Regions from separate parts of the Homo sapiens genome. Here region 1 is linked to region 2. The links are contacts of gene promoters, found by promoter capture Hi-C in blood cells and fetal thymus (Javierre and others, 2016). All regions are on one chromosome and are shown on one strand. The core of a region is centred on a gene start or on the middle of the fragment in contact, and the rest is flanking DNA. Distances in the headings are between cores, read along the strand shown.

What was found. Contacts are between HindIII fragments. The CHiCAGO score rates a contact against its expected background, and 5 or more counts as called.
Region 1: a contact is called between a fragment that was not itself captured here and the fragment with the promoter of SEPTIN11 in region 2, in 2 of 17 cell types (erythroblasts and endothelial precursors). The highest score is 5.8, in erythroblasts.

The regions. Positions count from the first base shown.
Region 1 is chr4:76,427,189-76,433,535 of GRCh38, forward strand. No RefSeq gene overlaps it. Among named protein-coding and RNA genes, the nearest start is that of SHROOM3, 4.9 kb to the right of the region's middle. The HindIII fragment of the contact is 829 bases long and covers 3,498-4,326 here.
Region 2 is chr4:76,945,234-76,951,773 of GRCh38, forward strand. It overlaps SEPTIN11 (septin 11), which reads left to right and starts at 4,519. Exons shown (of 10, transcript NM_018243.4): 1 at 4,519-4,697. The coding sequence starts at 4,671. LOC105377294 (a long non-coding RNA gene) reads right to left here and starts at 4,332. Exons shown (of 3, transcript XR_001741739.2): 1 at 3,730-4,332. RefSeq lists an enhancer at 3,304-3,383 and silencers at 4,294-4,473, 4,504-4,813. The HindIII fragment of the contact is 7,046 bases long and covers 379-6,540 here.

The sequences.
Region 1 (6,347 bases), core at 2,662-5,161, 520 kb before region 2:
CAGCTCAGGCAACATAGAGAGACTCTGTCTCTATTTTCTTTTAAAAATAAAAATTTAAAAGAAGAATAACAGGCTGGGCGCAGTGGCTCACGCCTGTAATCCCAGCACTTTGGGAGGCTGAGGCAGGTGGATCACTTGAGGTCAGGAGTTCGAGACCAGCCTGGCCAACATGGTGAAACCCCACCTCTACCAAAAATACAAAAAATAAGCTGGGCGTGGTGGCGTGTGCCTGTAATCCCAGTTACTCAGGCAGGAGAATCGCTTGAACCCAGTAGGTGGAGGTTGCAGTGAGCCAAAATTGCGCCACTGCACTCCAGCTTGGGTGTCAGAGTGAGACTCTGTCTCAAAATAAATAAATAATAACAATCTTTAATTAAATCATTTATATTGTTATCACAATGGTATAGTTTACAATCCTAGATAAAACCACCAAATGCCTTTTTAGATATGGGCTTAGAAAATGGAAGTAGTGTAAGATAAACCATTTATTTTCTATGAAGGGAAAATATTCAAATTGGCAGCATATAAATTTTGATTCACAGATTGTTTTGGAATGCTTAAATAAAGATAACATTAGCAGAGGTATAAACATGATGGAAACCTTCAATAGCAAACAAAGTACATGTTTTATAACAAGAAAATCAATGAGTAAACAACCAAAAAATAAACAGATGAATAAAGCAAGAAAACATATGTAAGTTCTTTCTTTGTGTTGTATTAGTGTGTAATTATTTTTACTGTCCTGTCTATAATTCATTGGGCTTTTTGAATCTGTAGTTTGTTTCTTTCAAAGGTCTGAAAAACCCTCAATTTTATGTATATATAAATTGAGTGAGAGAGAGACAGAGGTGAGGGTATTTATTACAGAGTGGGGAGAGAGAGAAAAAGACACAGAGAGAGAGACAGAGACAGAGAGATGGGGAAGGGGGATTTATTATAGGAATTGGCTCACACAATTTTGGAGGCTAAATTCCATGACATGCCCTCTACAAGCTGATGACCCAGGAAAGCTGGTGTTGTAATTTAGTCTAAATTTAAAGGCCCTGTCCCAGGGCAGGAGAAGATGATATCCCAGCCTGAGAGAGAATTTAAGTGTGCTTTTAAGTGGTGAGTTTTGAGAAATGTGTATACCCAGTAACGAAACACTTCGGTCAAGATTTCTGTCTCCCCAGAAAGTTCCTTGTGTTCCTTGGCAGTCGTTCTCTCCCGCAACACTGATATGGGTTTTTACAAATACAAGTCTTTTTTTTTTTTTGATTGACAAACTCTTTTACAGACTGATGAAAAAAGGGGATAGAAGTAACAGATGGAAGTCAGATAGCTAATAAAGGGAGATTGCCTGTTCTCCTCTAGGCCTTGTTTCTGCCTTTGAGATCATTGTCATTAGCATCTTTGAAGCCAACTAATCCTTTATCATAACCATCTTTTGTTTAAGATCTCAGTACCATTGTTTTTGCTGAGATATATTCTTTCTTTCTTTTTTTTGACAGAGTTTCACTCTTGTCACCCAGGCTGGAGTGCAATGGCACCATTTTGGCTCACTGCAACCTCCGCCTCCCAGGTTCAAGTGATTCTCCTGCCTCAGCCTCCTGAAGTAGCTGGGATTACAGGCGCCCGCCACCGTATTCTTATTAAGATCTTTTACTTCTATTTAGGAAGAAATAGTGTAAGTTTGCGGATATAATTCTAGCAGTTTTTAAATAATAATCTACTACAGTGACTTCTATAACAGTTGTGACTTCTGTCAGGGATCTAATATCAAGTATGTGCCATCAGATATTATTATTATTTGGATCTTTATGCATCTGGCAGTTTTCTGACTTTTCACTACAACCATGCTTACCATGATTAAGTGATGAATAATGATCTAATTAATCATAGTGTCATGTTTTACATTTCTTTACCTTTTATAAGCACTTTTTAAACTTACTGTGGTAAAATATACATAGGATAAAATTTATCTTTTTAACTATTTTCAATCGTACAATTCCATGGCATTCACATAGGCATATTGTTATGTAACCATTACCACCATCCATCTCCAGAACTTTTTCATTTTTCCAGACTGAAGCTCTGTACCCATTAAACAGTAACTCCTTATTCCCTCGTCTCTCATCCCCTGAAAGCACCATACTACTTTCGCTTTCTGTCAGTTTGACTACTCTAGGTATCTCATATAAATGGAATCATACAATATTTGTCCTTTTGTGTCTGGCTTATTTAACATAGTGTCTTCAGGGTTCATCTATGTTGCAGCATATATCAGAATTTCATTCATTTTTTTAAATAAAAAAGGATTTAGATCACAGATTTCATTCATTTTTAAGTCTGGAAAGTATTTCATTGCATGTATATTCTACATTTGGGCTACCTATTCATTTGTCCATGAAGTCCTTCAGTTGTTTAAAAACTAATTTTATTGAGCTATAATTTCCATTCAATAAACTGTATACATTTAAAGTGTACCATGTGATGAGTTTCGGCATACATATATGCACCTGTGAAACTACTGCTTCAAGCAAGACATGGAGCATTTAGATCATTCCCAAATAATTTGAGTTGATTGTGTTTTGATAGTTCTGCCACCAACTTATGATATTTGGTGAAGCAAATGCTGTAAATTGCATATTCAGCATCTATCCCCACTTCCTCCTTTCTCAAGAACCCCAGTGTTGAACACAACATTCTACAGAGCCCTGTGCTTCAGGGGAAGTTCTAGTAGGTAGATCTTGATTAGTTTAAATCTAATCTTTGTGCTTTCATTCCTCTTCCAAGTGACTGTTTTCAGAGGAAGCATTTGATCTACTTCATGGCATTGAGAAATGAGGGAAGATCAGCTGGGAAAGTTTTCCTCAATCTTTCTTTTCTTTTCTTTTCTTTTTTCTTTGAGACAGAGTCTCACTCTGTCACCCAGGCTTGAGTGCAGTGGCGCCATCTCCCTCACTGCAACCTCTGCCTCCCAGGTTCAAGCGATTCTTCTGCTTCAGCCTCTCGAGTAGCTGGGACTACAGGCATGCACCACCCCACCCGGCTAATATTTTTTGTATTTTTAGTAGAGACAGGTTTTCACCATGTTGGCCAGGCTGGTCTCAAACTCCTGACTTCAGGAGTCACCCACTTCAGCCTCCCAAAGTGCTGAGATTACAAGTGTGAACCACCGTGCCCGGTGTTTTTTCGTTTTGTTTTGTTTTAAATCAGCTGACATCATGCTTTGATCCCCAATCTTAAGGAGACACATGAAGACATGATTCTTTTTGCCTGTGAAAGGCTGCCTAGAGAGATTGCACAAACTTTAAAATAAGATTGATTTTTGTCTATTTAGGATTGTTCTGAGGCCTTCTAAGAAAGACTAAATAAACTTCCAACTTATAATTTAACAATTTATTAGGCCGGGCGCGGTGGCTCACGCCTGTAATCCTAGCACTTTGGGAGGCCGAGGCGGGTGGATTGCCTGAGCTGAGGAGGTCAAGACCAGCCTGGTCTGGTCTCAATCAAAAAGCTTGAGAATTGCCAGACTGGGTGAAACCCCGTCTCTACTAAAATACAAAAAAAAAGTAGTCAGGTGTGGCAGTGTGTGCCTGTAATCCCAGCTACTCGAGAGGCTGTGACAGGAGAATCACTTGAACCCGGGAGGCAGAGGTTGCAGTGAGCCGAGCCGAGATCGCCATTGCACTCCAGCCTGGGTGACAAAGTGAGACTCTGTCTCAAAAAAAAAAAAAACCCTATTTATTGTCTACAGTTAATTTACTTTACCGATTAGTGAGCCAGAATAGCCAGTAGATGTCGCTCTGATTTCATTTTCAGAGATAACCTACTGACTTTTCAATCTCTTAAATATTCCATCTAGAAGCATTTTTAAAAATCCAATAAGTTGACAATCACATTAAAAGTTTTAGCAAAAAATAAAGAGAAAAACATTAGGGCATACTAAGAAAAATTAAAATCAAGAAATGGGAATTTTCAAAAGATCAACTTAATTTTTCCTTCAGTGCTGTTAACAAATACAATGATGTGTGATTGCTAAAAAGTCAAAACAGTGATTAGGAAGATGACATTTAACAGACTGTTTGGTGTAGGGATGCTAAACAAGTGGTAGAGTCAATATGACTGATATATTTTTCTGTTCTGGGGCCATATTCACAATGACAGCAATATGAGCTCAATAACTCACAGTGGGAATTTTTCGTATAGAGACAGAAAATAAAGTTGTAAGCTACATTGGATCTATTTGTCATGAAGGGAAGAATCTGATCAAGAAAGCAGGAGTAATTCTAAGTTAGAGGCAGAAGGAAGGAGAGAAGTAATAGACAGAAAAACACAATGTGAAGCTTCATTTTTGGTACTGTGCTAAGCTTCTCTAAACTTTCTCCCAAACCAGGAAAAACCACGAAGGGGTTTCCTTGTGTATTACTCTGAACTCTTTCAGTTGCAAGAAGCAGAAACTCAACCCCCGCTGGTTTAAGGAAAAAATAAACAGGTACCTATGGGGTCATAAAACTGGTAATTGTAGGAGTGGGGTGGCTTTAGGCCTGGCTGCATCTGCTTATGGTGGCCTAAAGCCACCCCACTCCTACAATTACCAGTTTTATGATCCCATAGGAACTTGGAAAGTTAAGGGTCTTCAGGGTCAAAACTGCTTTTGTAATAATACTAAGACATTGTGTACCTTTTCCACTTGCTCTCTCAAAAATGTATAGGGGAATCTTCCAGTGGCTATATGCCATGTGATATTGAACAAATTGAATACAGAAGCAGATGGTAGAATCCAACCATCTTCTACTAACCTGGCCATTAAAGAGAGTTGCAAATATGTGAAACAGTGCCACTCTTCTTGGTAATATTTTTTGTTTGAGACAATGTAATTATTTTTCATAAAAATATTAATATGTTACTTTAACATATAAAGATTTATTATTTTTAAATGAATTAATACATAAGTATTTTAAAATGTTCTTTTCTATTTTCTAATATAGTAAATATTGATCAATACAAAACACATAAAATTTATCTGGAGTCTTCAATAATTTTTAAGCATGTAAGGGTTCCTGAAACCAAAAAGCTTGAGAATTGCCAGCTTCAGTAAGGTACAATTGGGCACAAGGCTCAATGGTATCACCAGAACTGTCTCCCCCTTATCATAGACTGCTTTTCTCAGAGCTGGTTTCCTTCTCAGGCGTGTGATATCAAAGATGACTTCCAGCTGGGGCGTGGCAGCTCACACTTGTAATCTCAGCACATTGGGAGGCTGAGGCGGAAGGATCACTTGAGCCCAGGAGTTTGAGATCAGCCTGGGCAACAGAGTGAGACCCTGTCTGTACAAAACAATTTTTAAAACTGGCCAGGCATGGTGACATGCACCTGTAGTCTCAGCTACTTGCGAGGCTGAGGTGGGAGCACTGCTTGAGCCTGGGAGATTGAGGCTACAGTAGGCCGCCATCACACCCTGCATTCCAGCCTGGGCGACAAAGCTAGACTCTGTCTCAATTAAAAAAAAAATAAAAAATAAAAAAAGACTTCCAGCAACTCAAAAATTTTATCTACCAACCTAGCAAACCATAGGAGAAAATGCCATTTTTTGACAGCACTAGTAAAATTTCTAGTTATAACATTGGTCACACTTAAGTCTCATGCCCATCCACATATCAATCATTTGAGCCAGGGGTTGGTTGATTCCTGGGTCATTACGTCCACCCTGGAGCCGGGGACAGGGGCAGCCCACCAGCACCACAGGATCGAGGAAGAAGTGGTTCCCTAGAAAGATGATGAATGGGGCATAAAAGAAGTCCTCTATTAGAAAGCCTGAGTCCTATGCTGTTCTCAGTTAGAATCCCAACCTTTCTTTCCACTGTCAGCACCTTGAGACAATAGAGTTGCCTTTCTCTTCTTGGGGAGGAGTCTGATTGCATTCTGTAATTAAGAGTTTGCATCCAAATCACATATCCTAACAGAAGTTCTTCTTACGAATTAGCAGTGCTATGCCAAAAGAAAGTTGTCTTTTCACCGTAAACTATGCAGAACACCTGACTTAAGCTAGGATTTCATTCCTAAACGTCTGAAGATTTAAATTTCATGCCTGCCTGTGTTGCTTGCAGGATTACTCTGGTCAGATCATTTAACCTTCTGGTGGCCTCTGTGTCCTTACCTCTAAAATCAAGGGTGTGGGAGGATTGTCTCTTGCAGCTTTAACATTCTTTGAATCTGATCAACAGAAGATGGAGGAAAAAAGTTCTTCCAAACCTGGTCTATCAACTGCTATAGTGAAGGTCCACAAAATGAAGTTTTACATTTTTTTTTCAGATTACATATCAATTTTGGTTCTATGTTTGTTTCTTCAATATTTTTGGTGA
Region 2 (6,540 bases), core at 3,269-5,768:
TGGGGTTTCACCATGTTGGCCAGGCTGGTCTCGAACTTCTGACCTCAAGTGATCCACCCACCTTGGCCTCCCAAAGTGCTGGGATTACAGCCATGAGACACTGTGCCCAGCCTCCTGTTTTTCTTGTATCCCTTTATAATTAATCATTTTTATGGTAGTCAAGAGTGATCTGGTCTTTGGGTTCTTTGACTGTAAACCACAGAAACAAATCCTAGATAACTTAAGCCAGAAAATAAAAAAATAAATTGTAGACCCCATAAACTGTAACAATTTGCCAAAAAGTAAAAAATAATTTATGGCCTGCATAAACTGTAACAATTTGTATTGTCTTTGTGTCTCTTGATTCAAAATTCAAATGTAACAGCATCTAATTGGCCAAGCTTAGATCACATACTTTCTTAAGAATGTATGTACTGTGGTGATGAAAGGAAGGGTGTGATGGAACGTCTCTTCAGGAGCCTCTTATTGAAAATAAATTAAATTAATTTTTTTGGACGTGAGATCTTGCTATGTTGCCCAGGTTGGAGTACGGTGGCTGTTCACAGGCTCAATCATAACGCACTACAGCCTTAAACTCCTGGCTTTAAGTGATCTTCCTGCCTCAGCCTCTTGAGTAGCTGGGACTACACCATGCTACCACAGCCAGCGAGGAACCTCTTTTTTTGGTTTTGTTTTGAGATGGAGTCTGGCTGTGTCAGCCAGGCTGAAGTGTACTGGTGCGATCTCGGCTCACTGCAACCTCCACCTTGTGAGTTCAAGCTATTCTCCTGCCTCAGCCTCCCGAGTAGTTGGGATTACAGGCATGCACCAGCACATCCCACTAATTTTTGTATTTTTAGTAGAGGTGGGGTTTCGCCATGTTGGCCAGGCTGGTCTCGAACTCTTGACCTCAGGTGATCTGCCCGCCTTGGCCTCCCAAAGTGCTGGGATTACAAGGCATGAACCAGTACGCCTGGCCCAGAACCTCTTTTTTAAGAGGCATTTACTTTTTACCAAGTTGAAACATTCATTGGAAAAGCTCTCCAAATAAATTGGGGTTCAATTAAAAAGGGAATAGACCCTAAATTACTAACAATGCCAAATATTCACTATAGCTGTTTTCTAAAATGCAAATTTTCTTTGCTTAAAGACCTCCTTGACTCTTCATTACCTTAGTATGGCAATAAAAATTATTCATTTCCTAGTCTTTACCCTCATCTCCAACTCAAAATTTATTGAATATACCAGACCATGTGACAGAAGCTAATAGACAAAAAAGCACTCTTACCTTGAGACATTCATAGTCTAGTGACAGAAGCGTGATAGTACGACCACTTCTTGATTGCTTAATATGTCTAAAGCAGAGTTTACTGGCAATAATAGCTGGGGTGGCCATAAGTCCTTGTTTTTCCTATTGTCCTGACATCATTACTATCAGCACAAACCCCCTTTTCCCAGCCTCAAAAGTTTCTCAGTTTGGACAGAAATTATAGGTCATTCTAATAATAATAATACAGTATTTTCTCAGTTAACTCTCAAAACAATTCTGTGAAGGAATGAGATGTTCATTCCTACTGGATAATGTGAGTAGAGTTTTATAAAAAGACTATCTGCAAAGGTATGTGCAAAATGAAGGGAAACCATAGGGGTTTACTCTGGGTCACCCTAGGGAGGGATACTGGCTGCTTCCTTTGGTTGAGGGAGGCAACCAGCCTGCAATGGTGCCATAGTAAGGGAGCCAGGGGGGAATAAATAACCATACTCCTTCCTCTTTGTTCCATCGCTGTTGCTTCCTAGTGCCTTCACTCAACTGGAAGCTAGAGGGAAAGAAAGTCTCTTGAGTTAAGGCTCCAAAGGACAGACAGCAGGTTGGAGAGTGGATCTGGCTAACAGAACACGTCCTCCCCCAGGACTCACTGTTACTACCCTATTTTACAATAGAAAAAAAAAAAATGAGATGAAAGTTTAACTTATTTGATATAACAAAGCTCATAAGTGATCATCTGTAGCTGAAGTGCCAGGTTCTCCCCACTCTGCCACTCTCTCGCTAAGGCTCCAACATTCTAGCAATGCCAGGATACCCACCCTCCCCATAGCATCTTCACATCCCAAATGAGATGTTGGAATATGTAACGTTAAGTTTTGCTGATTAGAATAAACTAACCTACCCACCAAGGTAGGGCATTCACATTCTTACAATCTAAGCAGATGAGTTTACAGCATATACATTCACAAAATAAATAAGTAAAAAAAAAAAATTTGATAAACAAATTCTACAGTCTGTTCTGGTCAAGATAACACAGTTCCTTTGCAACTGCCCTTACATCCGGTTGGTGGTGTGTGGAGCCCTCTTTTCCCAGGCCTTACATGAGGCCTCTGGTCCATGGGCAGTGCTGCTGCTGTCTGATCCTCCTTATGGAGAAAGGACAAAATGTCCATGTACCAGAGCTGCAGAAGAAAGTATTTGTCTTCCCCCTCCCTTTGCACAGCACCCATCTGTGTGTAATCTTATTATTATATATTTTTTGAGACAGGGTCTCACTGCGTCACCCAGACTGGAGTGTAGTGGCGCGATCTCGGCTCACTGCAACCTCCGCCTCCAGAGTTCAAGCGACTCTCCCACCTCAGCCTCTATAGTAGCTGGGACTACAGGCAAGCGCCACCATGCCTGGCTAATTTTTGCATTTTTTTAGAGCCAAGGTTTCACCATGTTGGCCCACCTCAGCCTCCCAAGGTGCTGGGATTACAGGCGTGAGCCACCGCGCCCGGCCCATTTATGTGTAATCTTAATTCAACACTTATTGAGCGCCTACTGTATGTTTGGCATAAAATGGTGGTCCCTAATTTCAAAAGATTTGGAGTCTAGAGGGCAGAAATTGAAGAGGTTGGTGCTCTGCACGTCTGAGTCCGCCCACAGACTGAATAAATAAGCTCTGCGTCGGCGCCCCTCACCTTTCTTTCATGGCCAGACTTTTCTCTGGCGGTTCCACAGCTGTCCTGACAGTGGAATTCAGACGGGGTGACCAAGCCCCTAGCCCACCTACCAGCGAAATCCAGCATCAGTTCCAGGGCAGCCGGACCCGCGCCCGGGGACGACTGACCCTTAGCCCAAGGCTGCGGGGGCGTCGGAGTCCTGAAGCGCAGGCGAGGCAGGGCCAGCGGGACAGGGAGACTCAAGGCCCCAGGGGATCTGGGCGTTTGAAGACTCAGGTCAGACTCTGAGGCGCCCGTCTAAAGAGACCGGTTGTCTTTTCCCTAATTCAGGAGGCCAGGCTGTCCCTTGGGGCGTCGTACCGAGGGCAGATCACAGCCCTTCCCTCCTCACCACACTCCCTGTGCTTCCACCCAGCTGGTTCCCCGCCCTGTCCATCGCTGTCCTCAATCGCTTGTTGTCGTGGGCCCCCCTCTCCGGCCCACGTGGGGCCGCAGGGATCCACAGCTCATCTGACACACCTCGCTGCCCTGCACGCACCGGGACCCCTCCATTCCGCCGGCCCCTCAGACACGCAGTAACACCCCAACATCTGCTGGGAAAAAAATCTTCCCCACGGCGGAGGAGTTCTCAGTCCCACGCGCCCAGAGTCGCACCCACTCGAGCCACCCGCCTGTTGCCGTCGCCACGCCCTCCAGCCGCAGCCCCAGCGCGCATTCCTACGGGTCGCCGGGTCTGTCGCCAGCGATCGAATGAAGTCGGCTGATCCCCCACGTGTGGCTGCTCCAGTGACACCCAGGGGAGGCCTCGGTCCTTACCCCTAGAGCAACCAATGGCTGCCTTAATTCTTCAGCGGGGGCGTTCTTTTTCTTCCTCCCAAGCAGGCGGCCGTTGGGTCGGCCGAAGGCAGCAGCGACTACTACGGCTCTTCCTCTCCAATGGGATCCCCTGTCTGCCCGCGCGCCACAGTGACAGCTTCCAGATGCCTGTCTTTAGTCTCCCTTCTCAAGGGAAGCGGTGGGCGACCGAGGTGCGGCCTGGAGGGCCCCCATGTGGGAAGGGAAGACTTGCGGAAGGGCAATTCTTCCAGTGCGGAGACGAGGAGGCCAGCCCAGCCGCACTTCGGTCGCCCACCGCTCCGCCTGGTGGTCCGCAGCCCCTTCCAGGCCGGCTTCTCCGGGTGGGGCGTGCTAGTCCGGGGCTAACTTTCCGCCACGTGCTGTCCCTGCGACCCGTCTCCCCCGGTCGCCCTTCCTTCTCCCGGCGGCCGCTGGAGCTGCCCGCTTCGTGGAGCCGGTGGCAGGCCCCGGGGCTGGGAGCTCGCGCCCAGGCTTTTACTCAGATTCCAGCACCTGATGGAGCAGGGGGTGGCGGCCAGCGCACAGGCTGTCGGCATCTCATGGCAGCGGAGACGGTCGTTTGGGGACGGAGGGGCGAGCCCCGCGGCCGGGGCCAGTGGAGCTGGGCTCGGAGCCCGCCCACCATCCTCCCGCCCACCACCGCGGCCGGGCGCGCAGGCTCACACCCCTTCCTGGGGAAGCGAATGGTCCCTTCCAGGCGGGTGGCCATGTTGCTCTAATAAAGCGGGAGGGGCGGCGGCGTGGGGGGAGCAGATGCCGCTGGCTGCCAGCGGGACGCCGGCGAGCAGAGCGCAGCCGCGAGGGAGGCGCGAGGGAGGCGAGCCGGAGCCCGAGCACTAGCAGCAGCCGGAGTCGGCGTAAAGCACCCGGGCGCAGCCGGAGCCGGTGCCGCAGCTGCGATGGCCGTGGCCGTGGGGAGACCGTCTGTGAGTGCTGGGGCCTCGCCTGCTGCTCCTCGGGCGCCGGGTGGTCTCTGCTCTGGGGCGGGTGCGGTGAGGACCACAGGGGAGCCGGGCGGGTGCTCGGCCCCGCGGCGGCGGCGACGGCTGTGGGTGTGTGCACGAATTTGGGCGCGCGTCTGGGGTCGGGGTTAGGAGCCCAGGGGCTCAGTTACGTGATGCAACAGTGGATCGCCTCGTCGCGCCCCTCTTCTGGGAATGCGAAAGAAAAAGGACCCCTCTCCTGTTCCCTTTAAAATAATTCTTTGAGGCGCGGCGTGTCTCAGCCGCCTCCCTCTGCCCGCGCACCTCTTCCCTCGTGACAGCCAGAAGGGCGCCGGGTTCGGGGCTTTCCTCCAGTCTCCCCCGCGCCGAGGGGGCGCTCAGGGCATGGGAATTGCGAGCTGAAGTGCTGCGTGTGGCACTGCTGTAGAAGCAGGTCAGAGGGGTGGGATTTCCGTGGTGGCCTCCCCAGCGCATTGTGAGATCCCGGACACCCTCGGGCATCCACCCGGCTGAGCGGGCCCTGCCCAGGATGTGGACAAAGCCCCAGATAACACACACAAAGTTTTCTGGAGGCTCCCTTGTGGTGTGGGTGGAAGGACTGAAATGTTCTGCGGCTGAAAGGCCGGGGGCGGCGGGCTGAGGAGGCTGGGACGCGAGGAAGAGGAAGGGCGGGCGGGTGCGTGAAGAATCGAGTGCCCCACGGCGGGAGGGAGGAGAGTAGGAGGGAGGAGATACCTTTGCCCCGAGTGTGTGGGCCAAGGCGCCGCGCCTACTGGGTTGCAAGACTCGGTCCGCGCCCCGGGGCCGGGCCGGAGGGGAGCGGGACTCCGAGGGTGCGGTTCAGTGGCCGCTCCGCATCCCCAAGTGAAAGGCGGAGGAAGGGGCGGCGGCGGCCTTTCCTTTTTTTTGAAAGGAGCGGAGCTGGGTGGGAAAGGCGGAGTCCTCCTGTTTTCCCTTTCCCCTTTTCATCGTCGATGTTCACAGTCCACTCGCCTTACTGGCTTTGGGGGCGCCTCGGGCGATGTCTTTCCCTGTCTATCACCTCCTCTTCCCTTTTTCTTCTTCCCTTTCCCACAGCTGTGCAGCTGCAGGTGGTGGCTCGGGAGATTTTGTAGTTACAGACGAAAGACTTACTGAGATACTGGAAGCTCGGAAATCCCAGAAATGCAAGGCTGTGCTCTCAGGCTCCCGGCTCTTCCCCCTCTCCCCGCCTAACTCCTCCCCAGATACGCGCGCCTTTTGCACCCTACCCCCTCGGGAGAAGTTCATGGGTCCCTTTGCGGATTCTAATTCGATTTGGTGGTTCGGCTGCCCGCGGTGCTTTCAAAGACGTTTTCTGCAGTCAGAAAACACAGCGGTCATATCGAATCATGACTGTCTTTTAGGCCTTTTCAACTCTACGATTTAATGACATGGCTCTTTTAAGAATTCTGGTCTTCTTTTGCACATAAATTGTGCTCTTGATAATTAGTGGTCACATGTAGGTTATTGTTACTGAGGGAATTTGCATAGTCTCTGGGCTAGTCGTTTTATTTTTGGTGAGAAAATTGAGGTCTATAGAGGTGAAATTTATCTGGTTAAATTACTCCTCCCCCTGCCCCCCATTATACTTATTAGCAGGCATAGATTCAGAGAACTAAAATAACAATATCTGCTTTAGATAAATTGGCAAACGTTTAGGATTGCAAATATTCAGTGGGGGTGTTTGGCTTTTTCAGTAACACGTATTATTGCTGGTGCATTCTTGAGGGATGGAGGAGGTGGAAGAAATAATTAGCTGCACATTTTCTATAAATTAGTTCATATATGTCAGTTAAATAGGAAC